Linked DNA regions of Homo sapiens: regions 2, 3, 4 and 5 are each linked to region 1. The links are contacts of gene promoters, found by promoter capture Hi-C in blood cells and fetal thymus (Javierre and others, 2016). All regions are on one chromosome and are shown on one strand. Each heading gives the region's core, a stretch centred on a gene start or on the middle of the fragment in contact. The rest is flanking DNA. Distances are from core to core; before and after follow the strand shown. Region 1 holds the start of U2AF1 (U2 small nuclear RNA auxiliary factor 1). Region 2 overlaps NDUFV3 (NADH:ubiquinone oxidoreductase subunit V3). Region 3 overlaps WDR4 (WDR4 tRNA N7-guanosine methyltransferase non-catalytic subunit). Region 4 holds the start of LOC124905023 (a long non-coding RNA gene). Region 5 holds the start of ERVH48-1 (endogenous retrovirus group 48 member 1, envelope).

Evidence for each region. Contacts are between HindIII fragments. The CHiCAGO score rates a contact against its expected background, and 5 or more counts as called.
Region 2: a contact is called between a fragment that was not itself captured here and the fragment with the promoter of U2AF1 in region 1, in 2 of 17 cell types (endothelial precursors and erythroblasts). The highest score is 7.6, in endothelial precursors.
Region 3: a contact is called between a fragment that was not itself captured here and the fragment with the promoter of U2AF1 in region 1, in 1 of 17 cell types (erythroblasts). The highest score is 5.2, in erythroblasts.
Region 4: a fragment that was not itself captured here is called in contact with the fragment with the promoter of U2AF1 in region 1 in 1 of 17 cell types (endothelial precursors); the score reaches 6.3 in endothelial precursors.
Region 5: a contact is called between a fragment that was not itself captured here and the fragment with the promoter of U2AF1 in region 1, in 13 of 17 cell types (megakaryocytes, endothelial precursors, erythroblasts and 10 more). The highest score is 18.7, in megakaryocytes.

The regions. Positions count from the first base shown.
Region 1 is chr21:43,106,276-43,108,975 of GRCh38, forward strand. It overlaps U2AF1 (U2 small nuclear RNA auxiliary factor 1), which reads right to left and starts at 1,295. Exons shown (of 8, transcript NM_006758.3): 1 at 1,176-1,295. The coding sequence starts at 1,219. It overlaps LOC101928369 (a long non-coding RNA gene), which reads left to right and starts at 1,415. Exons shown (of 5, transcript XR_937770.3): 1 at 1,415-1,820. The HindIII fragment of the contact is 2,538 bases long and covers 1-1,832 here.
Region 2 is chr21:42,903,975-42,906,674 of GRCh38, forward strand. It overlaps NDUFV3 (NADH:ubiquinone oxidoreductase subunit V3), which reads left to right. Exons shown (of 4, transcript NM_021075.4): 3 at 1-302. Among named protein-coding and RNA genes, the nearest start is that of NDUFV3, 12 kb to the left of the region's middle. The HindIII fragment of the contact is 2,034 bases long and covers 234-2,267 here.
Region 3 is chr21:42,852,803-42,855,502 of GRCh38, forward strand. It overlaps WDR4 (WDR4 tRNA N7-guanosine methyltransferase non-catalytic subunit), which reads right to left. Exons shown (of 11, transcript NM_018669.6): 8 at 1,760-1,824; 9 at 767-950. Among named protein-coding and RNA genes, the nearest start is that of WDR4, 25 kb to the right of the region's middle. The HindIII fragment of the contact is 8,131 bases long and covers 1-2,700 here.
Region 4 is chr21:42,954,587-42,957,286 of GRCh38, forward strand. It overlaps LOC124905023 (a long non-coding RNA gene), which reads right to left and starts at 1,226. Exons shown (of 2, transcript XR_007067882.1): 1 at 1,104-1,226; 2 at 1-998. RefSeq lists enhancers at 1,575-2,425, 2,426-2,700. The HindIII fragment of the contact is 228 bases long and covers 1,165-1,392 here.
Region 5 is chr21:42,923,243-42,925,942 of GRCh38, forward strand. It overlaps ERVH48-1 (endogenous retrovirus group 48 member 1, envelope), which reads right to left and starts at 2,388. Exons shown (of 2, transcript NM_001308491.2): 1 at 2,104-2,388. RefSeq lists an enhancer at 2,523-2,700. The HindIII fragment of the contact is 2,430 bases long and covers 176-2,605 here.

The sequences.
Region 1 (2,700 bases), core at 45-2,544:
ACAGGAGATTCTACCATGTGTGAAGAGGACATTTTACAAGATAGACTCCATCCTGGAAAAGAGAAACATTTTAAATAGCGTTTGAAAAAAGTGGCATTAAAAACATCTATGACAAACTTAGGGGTTTATCATTGAAAACATAAAGTCATGTTAACTTTGTATGGCACTGAAGAATGCCAAGATAACTAAAGAGTAGATTAAGCCAGATGCTGAGTCTTTAGGTTTTCAAAGTAAGAATTATCCTTCAAACGTCTGAAAACATTCCATTTAGTCTAAACTACAGCCAACTCACTGGAAATTAGTACGTGCCAAGGTGGCAATTAAAGCTGAAATTAAATGTTTTGCTTTTAACCTAACGATTGATTAGGGAAGGCATGCAACCTTAAGGAAAAAATCAAAACATCTTTTTCCTTATATCAGAATTGTGTCTTCAAGAACAGTCACCGACTTACAAATTTTCAACTTAGATGATGGGTTTATCGGGGTATTAAAGGCATTTTCGATTCATGATGGGTTTATCGGAACGCAATCCCATGGTAAATCCAGGAGCACCTGTATGTTAAGAGCGGATCACGTCTCTTGTGGTTAGATAGTTAATCCAGTAGTCTCCACCATACTTTTTCTCGTCATATCTCCTTACTGCCGGCCCAGCGGTCGCTTAAACAGGCAAGAGGCTGGCTAAGTGGATAAAACACCAACGCTTAGGACCCTAAGTTAGATAAGCGACTGAATACTGGCGAGGCTGGTACCAGAGCTTGCTCGACAGGACATTCACAGCCGAAAGTTGGAACAAACGTGTCCACGTCCAAAAGGCCCGGATGCTCCAGGCAACTTTCAGCGCGGCTCGAGGCGGCTTCCGGGAGTCGGCGACTCGGAGGCCCGGACGTCGGGCGATCAGCCAGTCCGGACCCCAAGGCCGGAGAAAGCTCGGCCGCGGCGCCCCGAAAAGAGACCCCATTCATTCTGCCCGCTCCAGTTTTCCGCCGCGCGGCCCACGAGGCGGCGGCTCCGGAGGGCGCGCAAGGGGCCGGAAGGGCCACCGCTCCTTCCCGCCGCGCGCCCCTCCCCCGCCACCGCCGCGCCGGCCCGCCTGGGCCTCCCCGGTCGCCCTCCCACCGCCTCAACCACCCTGCGCCCCGATCGCGCCCAACCCCCGGCGGGGGGCTCCCACTCACTTGTCTTTCTCGGTGCCGAAGATGGAGGCCAGATACTCCGCCATTTCCCACCCGCCGCCGCCGCTGCCGTCGACACTGCTGCCGACGCCGCCGACCCTGCCGACGCCCTCGGGAGACGTCACCCGGACGCGACGACGCTCTTCCCCGCCCCGACGTGGCAGCGCTACCCAGTCAGGCGAGGTGCTGCCTGCGCGTGGGCGGGACGCATGCGCGTAGGGAGCACGTAGTGCGCGTGGGAGGCTCCGCCTTTTCGGTCCTGGGAACCCGCGCCCCCTGCCGGTGCCCTCCCCGCCCGGCCCTAGCTCTCTCGCCTTCTCGCCCGCCCGGCGCTGGCCCTGCTGGATCCTGCGCGCCGGGGACTGGGGGCTGGCAGTGCAGACCGAACCCGGGGCCGAGGGGCTTCTCCACAGAGCCGCCTGGGGCTCGGTGGGGGGCGCTCAGCTCGACCCCAGCTAAGGGAGCACTAGGAAGTGCGGGCGTCCCCTTCCCTGCACCCTTGCGGGGCGGGAACCGTCGACCTAGAAGAAAAAAAAAGCTGAGGCAAACTTGATATAAGTAGAGAGGTTATTTGGGCCAAGTTTGAAGATTGCAACCCGGGAGCATAGCTTCAAGTTGCCCTGAACATAGGATTTGCAACAGTGACAAGTGGGTTTATAAAGCTTAAGAGGGGGGCAGTTCTTAAATAGCTCACCAAGAATTTACATGAAAATAACAAGCTATTAATTGGCTGTACGTTGTTCTTTATATCATAATTCCAGGAAAGGAAGTTCATGGGTGAAGGCAGCGGGTCCGGAGCAATAGTGCCTTTAAACAATTGCCAGGCATGGGTGGGGACCGCTGAAGCCGCATAGACCTGTCTCTCCGGGCCGGATTAACCTCGCACGCCTCACATAGCTCGGACGCTCTGTGTTGTTTTTCTCTTCTCACACCCCTCTCCGCTTTACCCTCCCTCAGCGCTTGCCAGGTGCGACCTCCCCGGGGCCCTGCACTCTTGCAGTTGCCTGGCCAAGGCCACCCACAGGTGGAGCTGGAAGGCCAGTGACCTGCCTCTGGGATACCCTTTCAGTCTCCTCATGTCACAAGGCTGGAACCATTCCGTTGGAAGGGTTCTATTCCTCTCCTGCGTTTTAACCCCATCAAGCAGCCATTTTCATCTGGTTTCCCACATTCATCAACTCACCTGCGATTTACCTAATTTCCAACGCAACTATCAACTCTGATTAGGTAGAAGTCAGAGAGACAGGGCCTATTTTACTTACCTCCTCCACAAGATGAGCCCCAGACTGTGGGGCAGGACCATGGGATCCTCTTAGCTCGGCTAGAGCTGAATGCTGAGCTCTAGTGTTTGGGCGGATTTGCGTGTTAGAATTGCATTTCTCTTGGCAACAGAGCATCTTCCTACCTGGGAAAGATGAGCAAACTGGAAACCTGTATTAGAAACAGTAGGGCCTCAGAGGTTTAAACCAAAAAGTATCTTGAGACAGGGCTCAATCAATTTAGAAGTTTATTTTGCCAAGGTTAAGGA
Region 2 (2,700 bases), core at 1-2,500, 200 kb before region 1:
GCTGCAAGCCAGTCCTCCTGGGGCGGCAGAGGGGCATCTGGAAAAACCCGTGCCAGAGCCCCAGCGCAAGGCGGCCCCTCCCCTGCCCAGAAAGGAAACCTCAGGGACGCAGGGAATAGAAGGCCACCTGAAGGGTGGACAGGCAATCGTGGAAGATCAGATACCACCAAGCAATTTGGAGACAGTTCCTGTTGAGAATAACCACGGTTTCCATGAAAAGACAGCAGCGCTGAAGCTTGAGGCCGAGGGCGAGGCCATGGAAGATGCAGCCGCGCCAGGGGACGACCGAGGCGGCACACAGGGTATACCTTGACTCGCGCTCCCAAGTGCACCCTGTCCCTTAGGGTAGTGAGGCAAAAGAACTAATTTACATATGCTTGTAGAGCAGTGTTACAATTAGTCAAATTCTGTACTAGAAATATGGCCTGTAACGCTGTCTCAGCCAGGCAGAAAAGTATGTCTTAATTATGGACAATCCACATCTTTATATTTAGAATCCCTAAAATATTTAACGTTCTTTTTTTTTTTTTTTTTTGAGATGGTGTCTTGCTCTGTTGCCCAGGTAGAGTGCAGTGGCGCGATCTCTGCTCACTACAACTTCCATCTCAAGCACTTCCCCTGCCTCAGCCTCCCAAGTAGCTGAGATTACAGGCGCAGGCCACCACACCTGGCTAATTTTTTTTGTATTTTTAGTAGAGATGGGGTTTCACCGTGTTGGCCAGGCTGGCCTCGAACTCCTGACCTCAGGCAATTCACCCGCCTCGGCCTCCCAAAGTGCTGGGATTACAGGCATGAGCAACCCCACCCTGCTTAACCTTCATCTTTTTTTTTTTTTGAGACAGAGTCTTGCTCCATCTCCAGGCTGGAGTGTAATGGTGCAATCTTGGCTCACTGCAACCTCTGCCTCCCAGGTTCAAGCCATTCTCCTGCCTCAGCCTCCTGAGTAGCTGGGATTACAGTCCCCCACCACCATGTCCAGCTAATTTTTGTATTTTTAGTAGAGACGGGGTTTCACCATGTTGGCCAGGATGGTCTCAATCTCCTGACCTCATGATCAGCCTGCCTCGGCCTCCCAAAGTGCTGGGATTACAGGCCTGAGCCACCGTGCCCGGCCCCCAACCTTCATCTTAAAGAGTATGTCCTTGGCACTCTTCACTATTTCTTAACCGGTATAATTTTTGAAAACTGGCAGCTTAACATTGTCACCACTGACTTTTGAAGGTGTCCAAGTGTTCATTGATGACCTTGTGGGGCATCTCGCTAAGTGAAAAGGGGAGCCTCCGGTTTAACTTGCATAGGTGAAGAGCAGTAGCTAGTCGCTTGGCGTGAGAGTCTTTGGGTAAACTAGATGATTGCTTTCAGCATCCTGTGCACAGGGCAGATTCATAGTTCAGGAATTAAAGCAGTAAGTGTTGTACAGGTCAGCCGCTGCATACGCATCCTTTCCCCTGGACAGCGTTTCCTTCTCTGGTTAACTGAAAACACATGTGGGCTGCTTTACTCTTCTAGAAGACATTTTATGAAGGGTTTTTTGTTTGTTTGTTTGTTTGTTTGTTTTTGACATGGGTTTTGCTCTTGTTGCCCAGGCTGGAGTACAATGGCGCAATCTTGGCTCACTGTAACCTCCGCCTCCTGGGTTCAAGTGATTCTCCAGCCTCAGCCTCCAAAGTAGCTGGGATTACAGGCGTGTGGCACCACCCCCGGCTAATTTTTGTATTTTTAGTAGAGACAGGGTTTTACCATGTAGGCCAGGCTGGTCTCGAACTCCTGACCTTAGGTGATCCACCTGCCTCGGCCTCCCAAAGTGCTGGGATTACAGGCATGAGCCACCGTGCCTAGCGTGTGGAGGCTTTTAAAGGGCAACAGTATTTATTCCTATGATGTTACCATTTTTTTTTTTTTTTTTGGAGATGGAATCTCACTCTGTCACCCAGGCTGCAGTACAGTGGCGCAATCTTGGCTCACTGCCGGCTCCACCTCCCACGTACAAACGATTCTCCTGCCTCAGCCTCCTGAGTAGGTGCCACTACAGGTGCCTGCCACCACGCCTGGCTAATTATTGTATTTTTAGTAGAGACAGCGTTTTGCCATGTTGGTCAGGTTGGTCTCGAACTCCTGACCGCGGGTGATCCACCTGCCTCTGCCTCCCAAAGTGCTGGGATTTCAGGCGTGAGCCACTGCGCCCAGCTATGTTACCATTTTCTTGAGCACGAAACTTGATAAGATGCAATGCGCTTTAGGTGGGTCGTGGCAAACATGAAAAGGCAAGCTTCCGTTTTAGAATCCATGGCTCTTCTTGAAGACTTCTCTAAAGTGCATGATCCCTAACAAGCGCGGCTCCGTCCTGTGTCTGCTCTCCATCCTCTGTACCGCCGCCCCTTGCCTTATGTGCCTTACATGACGCCTTCTTGTTCTTGGTTCGTTGTGCGACAGGATCTATGTGTTTTCCCCCCTCTCCGTCTGCTCTTTGATCAGTACGCCAAGTGCCGGTGCTTGCCAGACTTCCCAGCCCTTAGGAACTGCATTTCCTGATGCTGCTGCTTTCACTCCTCCTGCTCGAAAATGGAGACGAATAACACAACTCGCAGGATAAAAACAGAATTGGGAGTTTTCAGACTGCAAACCTTTCTGAAGAGAAAGTTCTAATATTTCACGGGTGTGTTGTTTCTTAACTATCTTCTGTGCGCATGCGCAGAGCCC
Region 3 (2,700 bases), core at 18-2,517, 250 kb before region 1:
TACTCGGGAGGCTGAGGCAGGAGAATCACTTGAACCCGGGAGGCGGAGGTCGCGGTGAGCCGAGATAGCGCCATTGTACTCCAGCCTGGGCAACACGAGCAAAACTCCGTCTCAAAAAAAAAAAAAAAGTGCTTCCAAAGTGCTCAACTGAGCTTTGGCAAATGGGTACCTACTCCACTCAACTCCACAGCAACCCTGTGAGACGCAGGGCGGGCAGGGGCATTGCTCCGTTACCAGGAGCGATGCAGACAAGGTACAGGGTTCGCCCCGTCCCCCAGCAAGGAAGCAGCTCGGCCCGCCGCCCTCGCCCAGAGACCCCACTGTCTCCCCAGAGGAAAGCAGCTCAGCCTGCCGCCCTTGCCCCCTCCTCTACCCGGGGCTCCACATGCTCCTGAGGACTCAGCCAGTGCCCCAGGCCCGAGGCTGTGCTAATCCAGCCTCCAAGTGTTAGTCCCACACACCCTTGCCACACTGAGTGCCAACTTCATCGCTAAGTGTGGTGTGGGGGGCCACACACTCACCCAAAAAAAGAACTGTTGCAGACATCACCACATGGGACAAGCCAGCCACGCCGGCCTGGCACCCGGCTCCCTTCACCCACGGTGGAAGCCCCAGCCACTGCCATTCAGGACACAGACCCTGGGCCCCAGAAGTGGCTGAGTTGAAAGAGGCTTACCCATGGACCCAAAAAACATAGCTGCCGCCCCACACCCCCAGGCTTATGGAAAGGCAGGGCATAGGACATCTGGAAGGTGCCGAGTCTCACCTGCCACTGGTCGCCCACAGGCCTGTAGAGCACCAGGGGGGCTTCCTGGCAGTCCTGGAGCACCCACAGCCCCTGGGTCTCCTCGAAAGCCACGTCCCACACTTGGTGCTGGAACGCCAGCTGCTGCCTGTACACCAACTGCTGTCTGCGGGCGTCCAGCTGGAAGATGTAGACCACAGGAGTGCTTGCCACGAAGAAAGAGAGCATGATTACTAGGACTGCAGGCCCACGGGCTCCGCTCTGCAGCCAGCACCCCAGACGGTGCAGCCCTCGCCGGTGCCACCTCAGGAGAGCCTACGCTGAAAGCCCCAGCTGCGCCACTCCCAAATGCCGGCGCCGGGGAAACCATGGGGTGACGTACACTTTTTTAAGTCCTAAGCTCTGGAGTGGCTCGTGGTGCAGCAATAGCTAACCAGCACGGTACAGGCAGGCAGGGCAGGAGGACGCAGGCCCTGGGCTCAGGCGCAGCTCTCCTCTCACACCTGCGTACTTCCAGAACGAGCTAAGAGACCTCCCCAGGCTGTCATAAGGACAAGATGAAAAGTGCCGAAAGCACCAAATAGAATACCTTTCCTGACACACACAAGTCACTCGGGAAGAAGCAGCAGAACTGCACTCCACCCCTAAACCCACCTTGTCAGCACCGCCAACCCCAGGGGGTTCCCATCCGACCAGCCCCGAGCCGGGAGTGAGGTGATGCCACCACGACTGGCCCAGGGGAAAGTCTGTCATCTCAGAAGGCCAGGCAGAGGCTGCTGGTGCTCTTTACGCCAGGGGAGTTCAACGTCAGGTTGAAGAGCGCTGGCTGAGAGGAGCCCTCACCCTCATGCAGCAGCAGTCATCAAAAGTGACATTCTCAGAGGGAGGTGCTAGACCAATACCACCACCGTTCAGGACCTCTTCATTGAGGACGTGGGCCAGTGGCCAACCCGCTAACTCTTCCCCCTGCAGGTCTGCAGAACCGGAGGCCATAGAGGTGCCGCCGCAGCTTACCCGTCGCACAGGAGCGCCACGCAGTTCTCCTGGCACCAGAATGCAATCCTGGACGCGGCAAACTTCTAAAAGGAGAAGAAGCCCATTAACTTCACGCCACCTGCAGGGGCCCGACGCCGGGCGCTCTGATCCAACAAGAGCAAGACCGAAGGACGCTCACGCCCCCACATATCAAGGAAGAGGAAACAGCACTGGAACATTCTGGAATCAGTGGGGAAAGGAGGGTAGCTGATTCCCTGTTTCCCAAGCAGATGACAAAAGCCCCCCAGTGGTTCTGGCACTCCCTGCAGGGCCTGCGACAGCCTCCAAAGCCAACAAGATAGGTCAGACAGTGAGGAGAAGAGGGAGCGGAGGACACAGGGGAAAGGAAGAGATGAGAGCTACACATACAACTGCCCTGTGAGCTCCCACAGTTCCTGGCAGAGGAAATATTAAAAATGAAGAAGAGGCCGTGCACAGTGGCTCACGCCTTTAATCCCAGCTACTCAGGAGCCTGAGGCGGAGGTTGCTGTGAGTCGAGATAGCACCACTGCACTCCAGCCTGGGCAAGAGTGGGACTCCATCTCAAAAAAAAAAAAAAAATTTTTTTTAAATGAAGGAAACTTCCAGGAACCTGAGTCCACGTGAAGCATGAAGGAAAAGGCCTGGTCCTCTCTTACACAGCTGCCTGGCAGGGGGCAGAGGCCACACCACACAGTTCTCTAGGAAATGGAACAGACCGTTTGGCGGGAAACTTTGCCAAGGCCTGGGCTTTCAGGGTGTCATGAGATTGCTCCAAGCTGGCCGGAGAATGCTGGAGTGGGCCTGGCCCCACCCCTGCCCCACCTGGCTGGCAGACCCACAAAGGTGCATGCTCAAGCACCTCCATTCCTTCCACTTCAGAGCAGGATTAGAGGCCTTCCTGTACATTAACTGTTTGCATGCAACAGGGAGACAAATTA
Region 4 (2,700 bases), core at 29-2,528, 150 kb before region 1:
TCGCAGGGGTGTTCACATCCCCAGTTACATTTTTCCTAATATCTAGGGGAGAGACAATTATATGACAGCAAATGTCTCAGGGTCTGTACATCCCTTCCTGATATTGTTCCTCATATCCAGGGGGGAAGAGGATGATGTCAAATATCAAAGGGGGTGTACACCCCCCACCACGATATTGTTCTTAATATTCATGAGGGGAACGATGATGTTACTCTGAATGTCGCAGGGGTTTTTCACACCCCCTGTGATATTGTTGCTGATATCCACAGTGGGAGAAAATAATATTACTTCCAATATTGCAGGTGGTGTATACCCCACCTGAAATATTGCACTGAAAATCCAAAGAGGGAGAGGATGGTATTAATACCAATATCGAAGTGTGTGTACACGCCCCTTGTGATATGGTTTTCAATATCCAGGGGGCGGGAGGATGATATTAGTCCCAACATCACAGAGAGTGTACACTACCCCTGTGATATTGTCCCTAACTTCCAGAGGGGAGAGGATGATATCACTCCCAATATCTCAGAAGTGGTACATCCCCCGTGATATTGTTCGTCATATCCACAGAGGCACAGGATGACATTACATTGAATTTCGCGACAGGCGTACACGCACACTGTGATATTGTTCCTAATATCCAAGAAGGGAGAGGATGATATTACTCCCAATAAAGCAGTGGGTATACATTACCCCTGTGTTATTGTCTCTAATATCTGGGGACGGGGGGCGGGGGAGAGGATAACATTCCCTCAAATTTGGCAGGTGGTTTGACGCCCCTTGTGGAATTGTTTTTAATATCCAGCGGGGAAGACAGTAATACCATTTTGGATAGTCCGATTTATCCGCCCCACCTTTCCGGAACTCTGAGACCAGGAGGCGGCATGCGGTTTCCATGTGATCCCCGATACCTTTGCCATCTTCTGTACTGTCAGCCACAAACGCAGGCCCGTTATCTGAGCTGATCCGTAAGGGCAGTCCCAATCTAGGAATCAGATCTCGAAGAAGCAGACGGGTTACTTCAGGAGCTTTCTCAGTTCGTGTTGGATAAGCCTCCACCCACCCAGAGTAGGTACGCCCAAGAACTAGTAAATACTTGTTACCTCCACACTTTGGCATCTCTGTGAAGTCTACCTGGAGATCTTCAAAGGGGGCTGCTCCATAAGCTTGTATGCCGGGCGGAACGGCTGGCACTTGCCTCGCATTACGCTGTCGGCAGATAACACACCGCTGCGTCACCGTTTTGGCAAGTGCTGACAAATGCGAGACGTAGAAATACCGGCCTAACAACTTTTCCAGTTGACTCCTGACCTACATGGCATTCGAAACATGAGTATACAGAAGTCTTTGGTAATTCAGGATCACTGATGAGTAAAACAAGATAGGAGTTGAAGCTTATCTTTGTTTAAAAAATCCTTTGGTCTTGGGATAACAAGATAATGTAAATATGGCTTAAAGGAGAATCATTTCAAAAACAAAGCAAAACAAGGAAATGAAAAATAAAATTTATGGCCTGGCACAGCGGCTCACGCCTGTAGTCCCAGCACTTTGGGAGGCCAAGGCGGGCAGATCACGAGGTTAGGAGATCGAGACCAGCCTGACCAACATGGTGAAACCCCGTCTCTACTAAAAATACAAAAATTAGCCAGGTGTGGTGGCAAGGGCCTATAATCCCAGCTACTTGGGAGCCTGAGGCAGGAGAATTGCTTGAACCCGGGAGGCAGAGGTTGCAGTGAGCTGGGATCGCCCCACTGCACACTCCAGCCTGGGCAGCGGAGTGAGACTCCGCCTGAAAAAAAAAAAAAAAAAAACAAGTAATTATCCGGGCCTGGTGGCGGGTGCCTGTAACCCCATCTACTCGGGAGGCTGAGCCAGGAGAATGGCTTGAACCTGGGAGGCAGAGGTTGCAGTGAGATGAGATTGTGCCACTGCACTGCAGCCTGGGTGACAGAGCCAGACTCCGTCTCAGAAAAGAAAAAGAAAAAGAAAATTTTAAAAATCCTTAAGCGTGACAAGCTTCAAAAACAAAAAAAGAGTCGAAAATTTAAAAAAGGAATCTTTGTATAAATAGAAAAAATGATTTTCGGAGGACTTCAAAAACTTTTTTTCTAAATCTTATATTGCTTTTAGAATTATCTTTCCTCATTGAAAAACTTTTTTTTTTTTTTTTTTTTTAATATGTAACTAGTGAAACTGTCCCCCAGGGTTAACAAGAATTCATACCTGGTTCTGGACAGAAATACAGTTCTAACTGTGAAAGGAAAGTCAGTCGCAGGACCCCACGCTGCCTCAGGCAAACCTGCCTCAAACTTTATTCCTAAGCAAGATTGCTACGAAGATAACAGGAAGCTACCTACCTTCCTCACCATTTCCCCCACAAGGAAATTCCTTGAGGGCCTCAAGATCTTTACCTTAAAACAGTTCTTTTGAATTTCACCTGGCAAGGTAAATTGGTAGCTCATCTTCACAGGTGTGGGACAAAGGACAGAATTCAGTCAGCCCTCTGCTGAGCTGCGACAAACGTATATCTGATTGCTTCCTCTGCCCTATTGTTTATTTATTTATTTATTACTTTTGGCTTATTTCTCCAAGACAAATGCCCTATTGTTTATGCAAAAATGTAGATTCACTGAGCCAGACTAAGGCGTAAGTGACTATTCCTCTACCCGCCTCTCACATGTAAATTGTGTATTCAGTGAA
Region 5 (2,700 bases), core at 141-2,640, 180 kb before region 1:
TCCCGTGTGGAGCTGCGGCCCCGTGGGCCTGCAGGGCCTCCCGATGGCGGAGGCAAGCATTCGAAACTCTGCCTGTTTTTGCCTTTCACTTTCTTCATCACAATTATTAAAGGCTTTGAGGGCTAAATTGAGAAGGTCTCGTTGTGGGGTTTGAGGGCCATCGTCAAGCTTCTGAAGCTTGAGCTGGATATCAGGGATGGGTTGGGAGATGAACCGAAGGCTTAAGATAGTGGTTCCTTCTGGGCTGGCTGGGTCTAGGTTGGTATATTTTCTCATGGCTTCCATTAAACAAGAGAGGAAAAAGGGCTGGGTTTTCGTCAGGACCTTGGGTGATTTCTAAAAGTTTTTCATAGTTTACCGCTTTATGGGCACACTTTTTGAGTCCTGCAAGGAGACACACAATCATGTGGTCTCGATGGCAGCATCCAAAGGCCCCATCTTGATAATCCCAGTGGGGGTCCTGGCTGGGGACTGCCTCTGTGCCAGCAGGCTGGGCGGCAGCTTGGTGATGAATTGTATCAGCATGTGCCTGAGCTAGGGTCCAGATACGGTCCCAGTCTTCTGGGGTGAGCGTGGAAGAGAGGATAACGTAGAGGTCATGCCAAGTTAGTTCATAAGACTGGGTGAGGTACTGAAACTCTCTAATATAAGAGGCAGGGTATTCTGGAAATAAACCGAGTCTTTTGTGAATTCAAGAGCGATCAGTGAGGGAGAAGGGAACATGAACTCTAATAAGATCTTCAGTTCCTGCTACTTCCCGAAGGGGGCATTCTAGCACAGACGCTGAAGTAAGGGTGGGGCATGGGCCAAAAGCAATGCCTGAATGAGTATAGGCGGGAAAGAAAGAAAAGCCGGAAGTGGTTCCTGCTGAGGGTTTGAAGGGGGAAGGAGGGTTGAGTTAATAGGCAGCAGAGGATAGATAGGAGCGGAAGGTGGCGGGGTGGGTTTACAGGCCTCAGGAGAGAGCGGTGGGGGAGGAGAATGGGTACAGGCAGTGCAAGAATTGTCCTGAGGAGAGGATGGTGTAGGAAAAGAAGTGGATACTCTTGGAGGCAGTGCTGGCTGGGAAGACAAAGAGGAGGCTTAGGGGGTTAAAGAAGACGGTTGAGAGGAAGAGGCAGGGGCTGGAAGGGGTGGACAGCAGTTGGCTGGATCCAACAAGGAAAAAGAGTTAGGGTCGGGAGGAGAACGGCGATCAGGGCGGCGAGAATGGAGGGGGAGGATTTGAACAGGTGAGCAAGAGCAGAGGCCAGGTTGTAATCTGAGTGTGAACAAGGCCTGGATATAAGGAATTTCTCCCCATTTTTCCAGCCGTCAGCAATAATTGCTTAAGTCAGTTAAAATTGTAAAGTCGTATGTTCCATTTGTGGCCCATTTGGACCCACTGTCCAATTTGTACTGTGGCCAGACTGAATTGCAAAAAAAGAACAAGGTGCTTAGAGGGATATCTCGCCTGAGGTCTAAGGTTTGCAGGTTTTTCATGAGGCAGCCTAGAGGGCTGTCCTTTGGAATGGAAGACTGGGAATTTTCCATAATGGAGGGTAGGCTCAGGAGAACGGGAAAAGCAGACCGTCCTGGACAGCCGGAGGGAGACGATAAAAGGAGCGTTTGTCACCGCTGCCTTTTTCATTCCCAGAATGGGATCAACTGGCTTAGAGTCCCCCTAAGACCAGATGATCAGCGAGTGCCTGGCACACACCTTAGCATTTTTTTTTTTTTTTGAGACAGAGTCTTGCTCTGTTACCCAGGCTAGAGTGCAGTGGCGCGATCTCTGCTCACTGCAACCTCCACCTCCCGGGTTCAAGCGATCCTCCTGCCTCAGCCTCCCGAGTAGCTGGGATTACAGGGGCCTGCCACTGTGCCCAGCTAATTTTTGTATTTTTAGTAGAGACGGAGTTTCACCATGTTGACCAGGCTGGTCTCGAACTCCTGATCTCGTGAATCCAACGGCCTTGGCCTCCCAAAGTGCTGGGATTACGGGCGTGAACCACCACGCCCGGCCATGCCATAGCCTTCTTGGACCCATGTTGGATTTTGGGGCTGGAGAAACCAAGAGAGGCCGTGCGGATTTTTCCCTGTTAACCGGGCTCCCAGGAAACTTACCAGTAGGCGAGATCAGTGACCGATGTGCATGCACAGAGAGGCGACTAGAGGCTGAGGAGCTTCCTTTGTCCGGCTGCTGTGGCCTGCTTTCCCAGATGGAGGGGTGGTAGGTCCACTGGGGACGTGGACGGAAGCCCCTCGCAGGTTTCAGGGCCAGCCCCAAGGCTCTTGCATTGGTTGGAACCCGGAGAGCGCGCCAACAGACAACACGAGGCGGTGTGGAGCAACACACTGTTTTAATAAGCACCTGGATGCAGACAGACTGAGGCCTAGAATGGCATCAGCCCCAAGTGAGGAGGGGGCAGGGCTTTTATAGTTCTCTGTAAACAGGAATTGTCCCAGCCTGACGTGACTGCTATGTAGTACGCGGACGGCCTCCCCCTTGATCTTCAGAGAGTATGTGTCTTCCAGCCAGCTCTTTTCCTGCCTCTGCTATCTTGCTGCTGGTGCAAGTTTGAGCGTTGGGACTGGGCCTGAGGAGGAGGAGTTACTCATTCCCTCAAGCTTTCAGGCCCCTGGGAGAATCTTTCAATCAGGACTTCCTGAGGCGGTGTCACAGGTCCCTGCCCAACCTTGGCAAAATAAACTTTCTAAATT